Regions from separate parts of the Homo sapiens genome. Here regions 1 and 2 are each linked to region 3. Evidence: promoter capture Hi-C in 16 types of primary human blood cells and fetal thymus (Javierre and others, 2016). All regions are on one chromosome and are shown on one strand. The core of a region is centred on a gene start or on the middle of the fragment in contact, and the rest is flanking DNA. Distances in the headings are between cores, read along the strand shown.

Region 1 (4,396 bases), core at 1,119-3,618, 100 kb before region 3:
CTCAATCACTTGATAACACATTGTTTAATGCATTGGAACTTAGGAAAAGGAAGTATAACATTTCCTTTATCTTTATGACACCACTGCTGACAGCAGAGTTACCTCCATTTCTTTAAACTTATTAAGTTGGAGTCCTTCTAGGGTTTGCCAACACACTATACAGATGAACTTTCTGTTTAGGACAGTGAGGAATGCCTTTCTTCCCCAGCTCCGTGTGGTTCCCCTCTTCTCCCTTATGTTTAATGCACATCTCAGCTTCATCCCACTTTCAAGCTTTCCTCAGATGCCCTAGATCCATTTTCAGGGATGTACTGTATCCACCCCCTGTTCTGTCATCTCCTAACCCTCCAAAATGTTTCACTCCTATGTCTTTGAGGAGAACAGATGCCTTTCTCTGGCCCTTTTAAATGTAAAGATGTTTCTATGGCTATGCTTTTAAGTGTTAAGTTGTTTCTATGGCTATTTGGAATCCCAAATAGATTGGAAATTTCCCAAGGGCACACACATCCCAGTTTTTATTCTATATTCCCATGGTAACCATGCATTTAATAAATATAGTTTATGACTATCACAAATGTGGATATAGCCCCCTTTTCTTTTATATATATTTATAAACTATGTTCTTAAGCATTTCATATGTTTACTTTTTCTTTCTGTGTCCTTTACATTTTAGTTCACTTTAAATTATAGTCTTAAAGGAGAATAATTCTGAAACCGAATTCTATCCATAAAATAACTAGTATTGGACCATCTACAATTAACTGTTAATAAATGCTTTGAGGTTGGTTTTTTGTTTTTTGTTTTTGTTTTTGGCAGTAGTTATAAGCTTGGCCTAAGGAGCTGACTTCTATTCCCACAGAATCCTAGAATCAGATTTTATAACTAGAAAGGATCTTAGAGGTCATCTAGTCCATATTCTACCCTATGTTTCAGGGATCTGAGGCTCTGAGAGGTTAAGAATCTTACCCCAAGTCACACAATTCACTAATGATCAAGCCAAGAATACAACCAGGTGTACTCACCCCAATTCCAGTTTTTTTCCCAATATCTCACCACCCCAAAACTTTGCTTATCTTTCATCTAGAAATGTGCACCAACTGCCTTCTAGTCTCCTAATATTTGTAGTGAATGACCCTGAAATGTGTTCATGTTTTTGGCACTACTGCTCTACTTATGTAATTAAAATACAATTTTTGGATGTAGGAAATGTTGGAGATAACTGAAATTTTCAGCACCTTTTAAAGTTGCAACCGGAAAAAATGATCACTGAATACATCATAACACAGTATGGGCTAATTGAAAGGCATTCACCATGCTGCTACAAACTAATAAACAACAAAAATGATTGCAAAGTAATCTGACTTCACAAAGTGCTATAGTGATTCAACCTCCACCCCCAGAGAGCGAATAAATACAAAATATTATTAGAAATATAACATGGTCGACTTGGCCTGAGGTGAAATGCAGAAGACTGCTAGATTGACTTTAAAATGCCGTGGAGGAGCGTGGGATGTCATGGAACGGGGAAAGTGAGTTTCTTGGAGCCCAGTGTGGTGTCTTGAAGTCACTGTGCTCCATCCATCAGACTGCCACAGATACAAAGATAGCAAGAATGGCCACTTTCTTTAACCAAAAAAGGCCCTGGCGGTCTCAGGCAGACACAGAGGGGCACACACTTGGTAGGTCTCAAACTGTCAGAGTTCCTGCCCTTTCCTCCGTGGCCAGCCCCCTTAGTGTGAAGGGGTTGGCATGGGGCCTTTCCCAGACCCTCTCATGGGAAGCCAATTCAGCAAAGTCGGAGGCACAGCCCCCGTGTGAACGCAAGCCTGCACGCCTGAATAGCGGCAGCTGGCTTTGGAGAAAAATGGGACAACTGTCTCCTGCCCGGCTTTCAAGAGCTGCCATTCTTTCTTTCCAGGGGCTGAGCCAATTTCTCGGTGCCACCCACTCTCGCGCCTGCCCCCAGCCCCCGTTTCCTCCCCCGCTCGGGCCGGCGCGGGTCCACCCGACTACAATGCAGCGCGCGGCTGACCCAGCTGCTCCGGCTCCTGCCCGGGGTAACCACGGTAACCGCGGGCCGCCAGGAATGCGCGCTAATTGAAGGCCGAGTTTCCTCCCACAGTGATGAGCAACAAGTGAAGCAAAAATAGTGAGGCGGAATAAAGGCTGCGAGGAGGGGGCGGCGGGCGCGACCGGGGTGGCTGGGGGCTTAGGGAAGGGGAAATAGCGCCTGCAAGACCGCATTTGTTCTCTTAACACAGGGCAGTGAACGGCCGCGAACGACGTCATTTATGGTTCAAAAATCTTAGGGCAATTTTTTCAGAAAACAACTATTACGTCAAACCCCCACCTCTTTGCTGGGCCCCTCTGCTCGATTCAGGTACCTAGATGAATGGAGATGTACGTGCACATACATAGGTCCCCAGGAACGAAATGCCAGATAGCAGCAGGGTTCAGCAGGTGGAGGTGAGCCGACACTAATTTCCCCCCCAACCCTCTGGATCTTCTGTTCTCTTCAATCTATGGGAGACCCTTCAAGGTGGTCAGCAGCTAAAGATGGGTGACCATCATACCAGTTGGCCTAGACAGTTCCGGTTTATGCCTGTTGTCTTGCCAGAAATTATTAAAAGTCCCCCCTTTTCACTCTCAAGAGTATCCTAGTTTGGATGATAAGTTGTAAAGTCACCCTATCTAAAGTCTTCCCAAGCTCACCCAGATCCTAATCCAAGTCCAGTGTTCTTCAGATCCCTCCAGACTTCATCAAATGGCCTGGCCTGTGTGACCTAATCCTTGTATTTAGGTTAGGCAGTAAACACCCTGCAATTAACTAAGGGTCATCCACTGAGAAATGGGGGCTTCCAACAGCAACCAAAAGATAGCATGCTGGGACAGAATGCTTTCAAACCCACTAGCAGGAAGATTTCCACTGGGCTGATTAGGGTCACCACTGGCAAAATACAGTACAGATGTCATTGAGAAAATGTGAATCTATTAGCAATAGGATTGCCAATTCACAGATGGCCATTAAAGCCTCTGCCCGTGGAATGGGCTAAAGGAAAATCAGCTCTTTAGCAGGAGTCTCCAAATGTAGAATTCCCTAAAGAGGGTTCCCTCAGATTAGAGATGAAACGCTGGCGATGTGGTGTGGGGAGTGGTAAGGGGTGGGAGAAGGAAGCTAACATTTACTAAGTTCTTTGTGCATTTAATCTTCACAATAGGTCTTCCGTGTAAATTTTATTACCCCTCCCCATTTATTCAGCTAAGGAAACCCATGCTCATAGACGTTGACTTGTCCAAGTTCATATTGCTGCACTGAGTCCAGGGCTGTCTGACCCTGAAGCCTCTGCTGTTCACAGTGGACTTTATCCAATATCCAGAGAGACCTTTGGTCAAGATCAGTTTCACAGCCTCAGCACTATTTCTATCTGGAGCCAGATAATTCCTTTGGGGAATGGGAGAGCTGCCTTGCATATTGTAGAATGCTTAGCAGCCTCCCTAGTCTCTACCCACTAGATGCCACAGCATCCCACAAGTTGTGACAACCAAAAACTATCTCCAAACATTGCCAAATATCTCCTGGAAAGGCAACAATTGCCCCTTCTTGAGAATCAATGGCCTACATATTTAATATCCAAATACAGCTTTAATATCTTCTTGTATTGTTCTCTAACTGCTTCAGAAATATATCTTTTATCTTCACCAAAAGACAGTAATTTTTATAGAGACAAGACACTGTCATTTCTTTATTTTGTATCCTCACTGTGCTAGGGATATAATATGCAAAAAATAATCATTTTTTAAAATCATAATTTAAATACAAATCATACTTGAAGCAAAACTGACTCCACTCCATGGTGCCTATCAAAGAGCAAGGTTGAGATTATGGAGTAGAAAGGTCTGAAGGCCAAAGGAAGCTTCTTGCAAAGAATGAAAGGCATGATCCCACATCTTTGAAGGAACCACAAGCCCTACTCCACTCTTCATTCAGTAGAATGAATGTTATTGGCAGTCATTAACCAGAATCAGATTCTAGCTGACACTTGGCTAACTTTTCTGGCTCTTCCCTCTCCTCCATCCCTTCAATGCATTTTTTTTCTGGTTCTTTTTAAAAACAAGACCAGCAGAGGCATCTAGGTAAGCTCAGGGCAGAGCAGGCCAAAGCTAGGAGAGAGTGCTGGGAGAAAAGGCAGTGGGGCTGAGGCCTGAAAAGCCACTCCTCATTTGTTTTCTGTCTCTCATGGAAAACTATGGAGTTATTTCAGCTGTTCTGGAAACCTGAAGGCACAGGTGTCTGCTGATGATAGAAAGGATGATTCTGCTTTCTTTGGGGAATCAACTCTACTGACGCATAATCTGAAGCATATCTGATGCATAATTGAGTTTACAAATGAAAATG
Region 2 (3,819 bases), core at 126-2,625, 120 kb before region 3:
AAGTGGGGAACTGGGCATTGTGTAGGCATGCAGTGCTATTTATTGAGGGACCTCAAAGAAATGGTGACCTATGTAGGACTCAGTTTTCATGTCTATAAAATGCAATGAATACTTGCCAACCTTTAAATAATCTCTTAAAGATGAGAGGACAACTAAGACCAAATCAGTGGAGCACTTTGAGTTCTCTATCATTATCAGGAGCTGCTCAAATGCTGCCTCAGCCAAAGGGCTTTCTTTGATTCTCATAGCTTGAAAAGTTCTGTCTCTCTCTCTAACTTACAAATCATTCAGTTTGAATTTTATTATGGCCCTTAATATATTCTAGTTTGTTTCAAGTTATCTGTATAAATGTCTAATCTTCTCAAAGATTCTTGAAGGAAAAGAATCCTTATGGTTCTGGATCTCCATGTGCCTAAAACCATGCTTTACACATAGTGGGGAACTTAAAAAATGTTCGTTGCATTGCTGTCAGCCTGGGAATTGGGGCAGGGTTAATGGTTTCTTTGAGAAGTGCATTTTCAGTAGAGTTTTCCCCTCTAGACTGCAAACTTCCTGAGAGCAAGGACTAGGTTCGCTTCTGTATCCCCAGCACCTAGCATAGAGCCTGGCACATTGTAGACATTTGAAATATGTGTGTTTGTAATGAATGAAGGAATGAGTGAATGAATGAGGAGAAACTGGGAATAGAAACCATATTATAAGAGACTACAACATATAGCAGATGAGGCCATATGGGCGGTTTATTGGAGAATTTTGATCAGGAAGGGAAAGGCTTGGATCGTAGAAAAGTCTGGGTATCATGATTATTATTATTATTAATTTTTTTAAGGAAAACTAGCATGTCTGTATGCATTATGAAAAGGGCCTACCCTACCTGGAGCTGTGGTTTTATCTAGGTGTTCTAATTTCTGAAGCACTGTTATGGTAAACATTCAGTGATACTGCACTAGAGGTCATGGGGGAGGGGGCCCATAAAGTTGTTGCTATATGGAACAATGTACCAGCTGTGCCCTGGCAGACAGACATGGTCGGTGAGAGATGGCTGCCACCCTGAGAAGCAGCTGGAGGATCCTCAGTTAATTGCCACTTGGACTAGAGCATAGTTTTCTATGTCATTATAACAAATTACACTCCTCATTATGATACAGATTTGATTGTGTATGCATAGGTTATCATGTCCCTGAAAAGTTACAGTAACCATTTATAGCCTCAAATGAAGATGATAGTTTTGCCTTCAGTGCTGGCATTATAAAGAGACTCCACTGTACCAGATACTTTCAGCCTTGACTTCTTAGTCACAGCAGCCCATGACTTCAGAAATCTAAATTCCTCTAATTTGTCAAAAAAGACAGAGGCAAAGTATTGATCTTTTGACTTTAGGAGTATCATCCATTTGGTTTCAGTAGCTAAAAACCTGGGCAATTCTCCTTCTAAAAGCTATTGGACTTTTTAAAAATGATAAGCTACAAGTTCAAATATACTAAACTATTCTCTGATCCTGGTAGAATCTGGCTCTATGTCACATACATTCTGAGGAGCATATGAAACACCAGAAAACCTTTCCTGGTCCCTCCTCTCCAAGGATGAGATTTTCCTTTCTGAGCTGGCATTATGGATCAATCTTATACTGCCTTGTATTACTTACTCATTTTATTTCCACTTACAAGCCCCAGCAACCACCTGGTAGACTGTACATTCCTTGACGGCAGGTAAAATTTGTTAGCGTTCATTAAATTTTTCTTGATTTGACAGCAAATAGCATGGTGTCAGATTGATTTTTATCTGTAATTTGTCTGAAGATCACAGAACTCTCTGGGACGTATGGTGATGTTTTAATAAGAAATGTCCTAGACTATTGGCCAAAGTTCAGCATATTTGGAAAATGACCTTTTTCCCCAGTGATGTTTCAGTTTAAGATTGATGGATGATTTATCTGTTTTCAAGTTCAGTCTGGCCCAAGTCATTTGGCTGCTGTGGCTCTTCATACTTCACCTCCTCTAATTTATTAGCCTTGCCAACTTCAATTTTTGGAGAGGGGATATTGGGATATTCACTTTGATGCCAAACTATAATTTTAAAAATTCTTATTGTTAAAGGATTTTTGCTGATACTTTTGACCCAATTAAGGTTTAGGTAGTTTTCAGCTAATTTCCTCATTACAGCCAAAATCCAACTTGTAAAACTTGCAAAAGAAGTCTCCGAGGCAGATACTCATGGATATAGCCTTGTTCTTCCTGTCCTATCTTAATAAGCTAAGTAAAGCTGTTTATGGATGATGGAACAGCTGCCAGATTCCACCCCCAAGGTGACAGCAGCTCAGCTGTGGGAGAAGTGATTCTTAAAATTTGCATATTCTCTGTATACATACAGTAGGCATATATATAGATACACATCCTTATTAATTTTGAAAATGACATTTCAAAACCCTACTTGCCTACTCAATTCTTTTGCATGAAGAATGGGTGGAGGACAGGTAGATGTGGAAACAAAATGGATTAGAGCAAAGCAGAGTAGATGTGGAAGGACCAGGTGGGAGATGATTGTGTTAAGCAAGGTGGGAGGTAATGGCAGCAAGGACTAGGACAGTTTCAGTAGAGATGGAGAAAAGGAAACCAACTCAAGGTTATTTTGAGTTACAATCTAAAGGACTTGGTGACCAATTGGATGAGGGAAGTGGGGGAGAAGGAAGGGATAAGGATGAAGTCTCTGCTTCTGGTTTGGGCTAAAAGGTGGACAACAATGCCATCCACTGAGATAAGATATGTAGAAGCTGGTTCGAAGTGAAGAAGCAGCAGATTAATTCAATTTCCTAGGGGCTGAGGTTGAAATGCCTGCAAAACACCCAGGTGGAGATGTCCAGAAGACAGTTGGATATACGGTATTGAGGAGCAAAAGAGAGGCTGGAGATAATGATCAGAAGTCATCAGCATATAGATGATGATTGAAGCCACAGGAGTGAATAAGGTTTCCCAGGGAGAGGACCTCAAACAAAACAGGAACATCTGGAGGATGTACAGTGGAAGAACACCCAGCATACACAGAGATAGGTAAGAAAAATTACAAAGTACAGTGCTGAGAAAGGCAAAGAAAGATGAGCGCCTCAGAGTGGCAAATGCTTTTGAGAAGTCAAAGGAGGTAATGATTGAAAAGGATCCATTAAATTTAGCAATCAGACAATCTTAGCAAGAGCTGGTTTCTGGAATGGTGAAAGCAATAGCAAGATGGAAGGGAGCTGGGGAGTTGGTGAGAGCAGAGGGAAAGGAAACATTTAATATTCAAAACTCTTTCAAGGAGTTTGGCTGTGAAGAAGAGTAAAGGGACAGGAAAGCAACATCTGAGGACCACAGGATTTTTGTGAATTGTTGTATTTTAATGGGAGAGACTTTAGCATATTTTGAATGCTGACAGGAAGGAGTCACTAAAGATGAAAAGAATGGAGATGTGAGGTGGGAACAGGGCGGAGTGTGGGTGTTCAACACAGAGAGAGCCTTGACAAAGCTTAAAGGGATGGATCCAGAGCAGCACAGGAGCAGGCAGTCTTCCTGCATGGTAACAAGGTCTCAAGTAGCTGCCTTGAAGAATGGGAGAAGGAACTAGAGTGCCTCTTACCTCTTCCATTCAGGAACCAACTGGCTATACTATACATAGTTCATCAAAGATGCCCTTTTCAACCACACATTGTTCAAAAGACTATTGTGTACAAATGTAATCTGAAAAATTACTGTTGTGAAATAATTACCCTAAAATTGAAGTAGTATATAAATATAAAATAGGCTAAATTGACATTTTTGTAAATTAACATTTCTTAACATTTTTAAT
Region 3 (3,918 bases), core at 786-3,285:
TTCCATGCCCAGTAAGCAACTGAGGGCATAGTGCCCATGGGGTGAGATGGCCTGGGTCAGGTGGACAGAAAGGCTGGTCTACTTGACAGCTATAAATAGCAAATTGACATTCTGTGTTGATCCAAATTGCTTAAATTCACTGTGTCTCAGCTTCCTCATCTGTAAAATGGGAAGAATAATAGCACTTATCTCATAGGGTGAAGATTATGAGATGTTCTATGGAAAAGGCCTAGAACAGTACCTGGCCCAGAGCAAGTGCTGCTGCTATAAGCATTGTACATCAGGCACTGTGAGCTTGGTTAATGTGACTCTGCATTTGAGAGCTGAGGCCCTGTCACTGTGTCACAAAAGCAGCTTAAGAACAAGACTTTTTGGGAGGGAGAGCATTAGGACAAATATGTAATGCATGTGGGGCTTAAAACCTAGATGACGGGTAGATAGGTGCACCATGGCACATGTATACATATGTAACAAACCTGCACGTCCTGCACGTGTATCCCAGAACTTAAAGTAAAATTAAAAATAAATAAATAAATAAATAACAAGATCCTGAAGAGTGGCTAATTTACCAAGCTGTGTATCAGTTCATGGATTCCTCTCTGGGCAGCCAGAGTCCCTCCTTAGGTGATAACATGAACACCTAACATTGGCATATGCCCAAGTATTTGAAACTGCGAGTGGGGATTATATGGAAAACTGTCTGAAGTGCCTAATAAGGGTTTATAGTACACAATCTTCCCTCAATTAATGGGTAGCATTTGTCTCTCTTCTAAAACACCATAAAGTCTTTGAACCAGCAGCTGGAAACCATAATTTGGGAAGGGATGCCTAACATTCTAAGGAGACTGCATTGCTGGGCTAATTTTGATTGTATAAGAACCTACAACAGTCCAATTCCCAGAGTCTGTGGACCGAAATAAATTCAGCAGGAAACTGTAGTCTTACTGAGTGATAATATGATTTGACACCCAAGTAATAGAAACATGCATTGGAGGACAGAAGAAATGTCAGCACCAGCCCTTTTCCACTTGTAAAACTCCTCATTCTTCTTCAAGATGCAGCCCAAATGCAACCTCCTCTCTGAAGCTTTCCTGAACTCCCTTAGGCTGAGTTACTCAGGCCCTCCTGTGTCCTGTAGCCCCTTCTCTTGCTCATGTAATTATGTTTCTATGTCTGTGACCGCCATTAGATTTTAGCTCCTCCTGAATAACAGTTTCTTAGTGACTTTTATATACTCTGCAAACAGCACACTGCTTGGCACGTAGTAGATGCTCACAAAATATTTGTTGTTGAATTAATGCAGTGGGTCTCGATTTCCCTCCTTTTCTTCCCTAAGCCTGGAGCTAAGGCAGGTGAACCTTCAGAGTCCTTTGAGGGGCAGAGAGAAGTCAAGTCAAACCTGGGGGAAGGTGGCCGCCTCTGCTTCCGTGGCTCCCTCAAGAACATGCTTGTGGAACCTTGCACCGTGAGGACTGGAAGGCACCTCAGAGTATCTAGAGAGCTAGGAGATGTCCTTGGGCAAGATACTGTGATACCAAATGTTATTCATTTAACAAACCTTTGTCAAGGGTCAACACATGCCAGGCCATAAAGAAGCTACAGTTCCTATCCTTACAAATCATACAGGGTGAGGCAGAGACAGACCTGTACACAGGTATAATAGGCACACAGTACTGTGTGACAAGTGCTCGGACAGGAGGGAGCACAGGAAAGGACACTGAAGAACAGACCTTGAATATCTCGCAGGAGAGTCCATGTCAAAGCCAAGAGCCCACAGCGGAGCGAAGTTGCCTTGGAGGAGGAAGCGTCACAGTTCTCTGTGACAGAACAAGAGGACTGCCCCGCCCCTTTCTCAGAAGGGGCATCATAGGAAGCAGAACTGGCTAGAGCATCTCCACCATCTTCCTTCAAGCACGTGGACCGACACCCAGGCCTCCTGGTGTCCTGACACTGCAGACTCCTGGAATATACCTCCACCAGCAGGCAGGAATCTGTCCTATTCCCAGCAACCACTAGAGGCACTGCCTGACCCTACTGCGGCCACAAGCAGAGGGACCCCAGGATTCTCAAATCTGTTACCTTGTCTCACCTCCCCTAGGAAGCAGAAGAGTGCTATGGTGAGTAGAGATGATCCATGAGACCCAAGCTTTATCTTACTGCAAACAAAATCCACATTAAAAAAGAAATAAGAATTTCCACCCACAATTTTATTATTACTGAAAGCATTTGGAATGAAGCAAAGGATTTAACAATATATATAAAAATATACATTTTTTAAAAAATCGCAAGTAGACAATAGATTTATGGAATTATTTTTCTGATCATCCAGAAAAGATAGCAATAGTAAACTGCAGTTGGGTGAGACCAGCCACTGGTCCATGAGACCTAAGCAGCCCTAACGCTGCCTGAGCTCTCAAGAGTAGAAGAAATGCTCGACAAACAGAAGGAGGCTGTGGGAGGGCAGCAGGACAGCCCCACCAGAAAACCAGAGCCCAAATGGGCTGGGCAGGGCCAGGGCTGAGGTATCGGGATGCAGGAACAACCAGGAACCCCATGTGGGTTGAGGAGACATGCCAATTATTCTGGCCTGGAGAGGAATTACCAGGACACAAGAACTCAGACCATCTGCAAGCAAGCTCCCTTGTGTGTGTTCACTTTAAATCAATTCGTGTTTAACTCACTGAATGAATACGTGGGTTTGGGTGGGAATCATCCCTGTGTCTACGATCATCTCAAGGAGACCAGAGAAGGGAAGGCACAACCAATCAAAGCAGTTTCCCCAATTAAGCTTAAGTGCCCACTAGGATGGGCGCCAGCTACTAGGGCTTCAGGGAAAGCAAAAGCCATGAGGCCCAGGCCCTGCCCCAAGGAGCTGGCGCTCTAATACAGTGAGAGCACTCGCTCAGAAGACTGTGCCTTGTGGCCCATGATTGGACGTGGGACAGAGTAACAGGATTGTTTCCACGTATGTGGACAATTAGGATAGGGTTAGAGAAATCCTTGTGATTTGAGATGGGCCTGGAGGGACAGGTACGATATTGACAGGCAGAGATGGAAAGTGTGTGGGCAAAAGCTCCCCAGGGCCTGTGCAGCAGGAGTGGGAGGTGGCCTTCCCAGGAGGGTTTGGAACATACTGGCAGCTACGGGAAGTGAGGTTGGAAAGGGAGTGGGAGCTGGAGGCCAGGCCAATGCAGGGCCCAAGCATACTCACTTATTCTTTCATTCATTCAAGAAAGATGTGTGGAGTGCAAACCCTCCACCTGGTGCCCCTCCAGGTGCTGGGCACACAGGTGAGCAGGACAGCCCCCACCCCCCAAGGCTGGCATCGCCTCCCTGGAGAGTTCTGAGTGGGAGCGCCCCATGCTCAGCGCTGTGCTTCCAGGAGCTCCTGCCAACTACGAGGGAAGTGGAGGCTGCAGCCTGGTCTTGAGTGAGGGCCAGGCCCGCACCAGGTGTCACAGCCAGGAGGGGTTACTTCACAGGACAGTGAGGTCAGCAGGATCAGCACAGGGACCCCCTTACCAGGCCAGCCATGTTCCCCACAGCTGACACTGGGGAAGAAATGTCCCCATCAATGTCTGGGATGGAGGGACAGGAGAACAGGGCTTAGAAAGGAGAAGGGAGGCCAGGAAGCGGGAGAATGAACCCCTAACCCTTCCTCCGCCGCCCTCTGCTGCTGGCCTGTCACTGGTCGAGGTGGTCCGGGGATTCACGCCCAGTGCTCCTCTGCTCTTCTTGCCTGTAGTCATCCTCCTCCTCCCTCTCTCTGGAAAGTTCTCTTAGCTGCTCTGGTGGCTCCTCATAGGCTTCCCGGTTCCTGCAGGGCAGCAGGGGACAGAGGGGAAGGATTTGCTCTCAGGTGGACCCTCAAGGGAGCTGGGCCTCATGTGCATTACAGGAAGAGCAGCCTCCAGACCT

What was found. Contacts are between HindIII fragments. The CHiCAGO score rates a contact against its expected background, and 5 or more counts as called.
Region 1: a fragment that was not itself captured here is called in contact with the fragment with the promoter of GPA33-AS1 in region 3 in 9 of 17 cell types (total CD8 T cells, naive CD4 T cells, naive B cells and 6 more); the score reaches 7.0 in total CD8 T cells.
Region 2: a contact is called between a fragment that was not itself captured here and the fragment with the promoter of GPA33-AS1 in region 3, in 12 of 17 cell types (naive CD4 T cells, naive CD8 T cells, activated CD4 T cells and 9 more). The highest score is 10.3, in naive CD4 T cells.

Annotation. Positions count from the first base shown.
Region 1 is chr1:166,945,694-166,950,089 of GRCh38, forward strand. All of the region lies in intron 3 of ILDR2 (immunoglobulin like domain containing receptor 2), which reads right to left. The region is part of intron 1 of LOC124904449 (a long non-coding RNA gene); the gene reads left to right. Among named protein-coding and RNA genes, the nearest start is that of ILDR2, 28 kb to the right of the region's middle. RefSeq lists a silencer at 1,952-2,001. The HindIII fragment of the contact is 3,088 bases long and covers 825-3,912 here.
Region 2 is chr1:166,929,079-166,932,897 of GRCh38, forward strand. The region is part of intron 6 of ILDR2 (immunoglobulin like domain containing receptor 2); the gene reads right to left. All of the region lies in intron 1 of LOC124904449 (a long non-coding RNA gene), which reads left to right. Among named protein-coding and RNA genes, the nearest start is that of ILDR2, 45 kb to the right of the region's middle. The HindIII fragment of the contact is 4,242 bases long and covers 1-3,496 here.
Region 3 is chr1:167,050,650-167,054,567 of GRCh38, forward strand. It overlaps GPA33-AS1 (GPA33 antisense RNA 1), which reads left to right and starts at 2,036. Exons shown (of 6, transcript XR_922249.3): 1 at 2,036-2,117. It overlaps GPA33 (glycoprotein A33), which reads right to left. Exons shown (of 7, transcript NM_005814.3): 7 at 2,187-3,817. The coding sequence ends at 3,685. The HindIII fragment of the contact is 1,060 bases long and covers 1,085-2,144 here.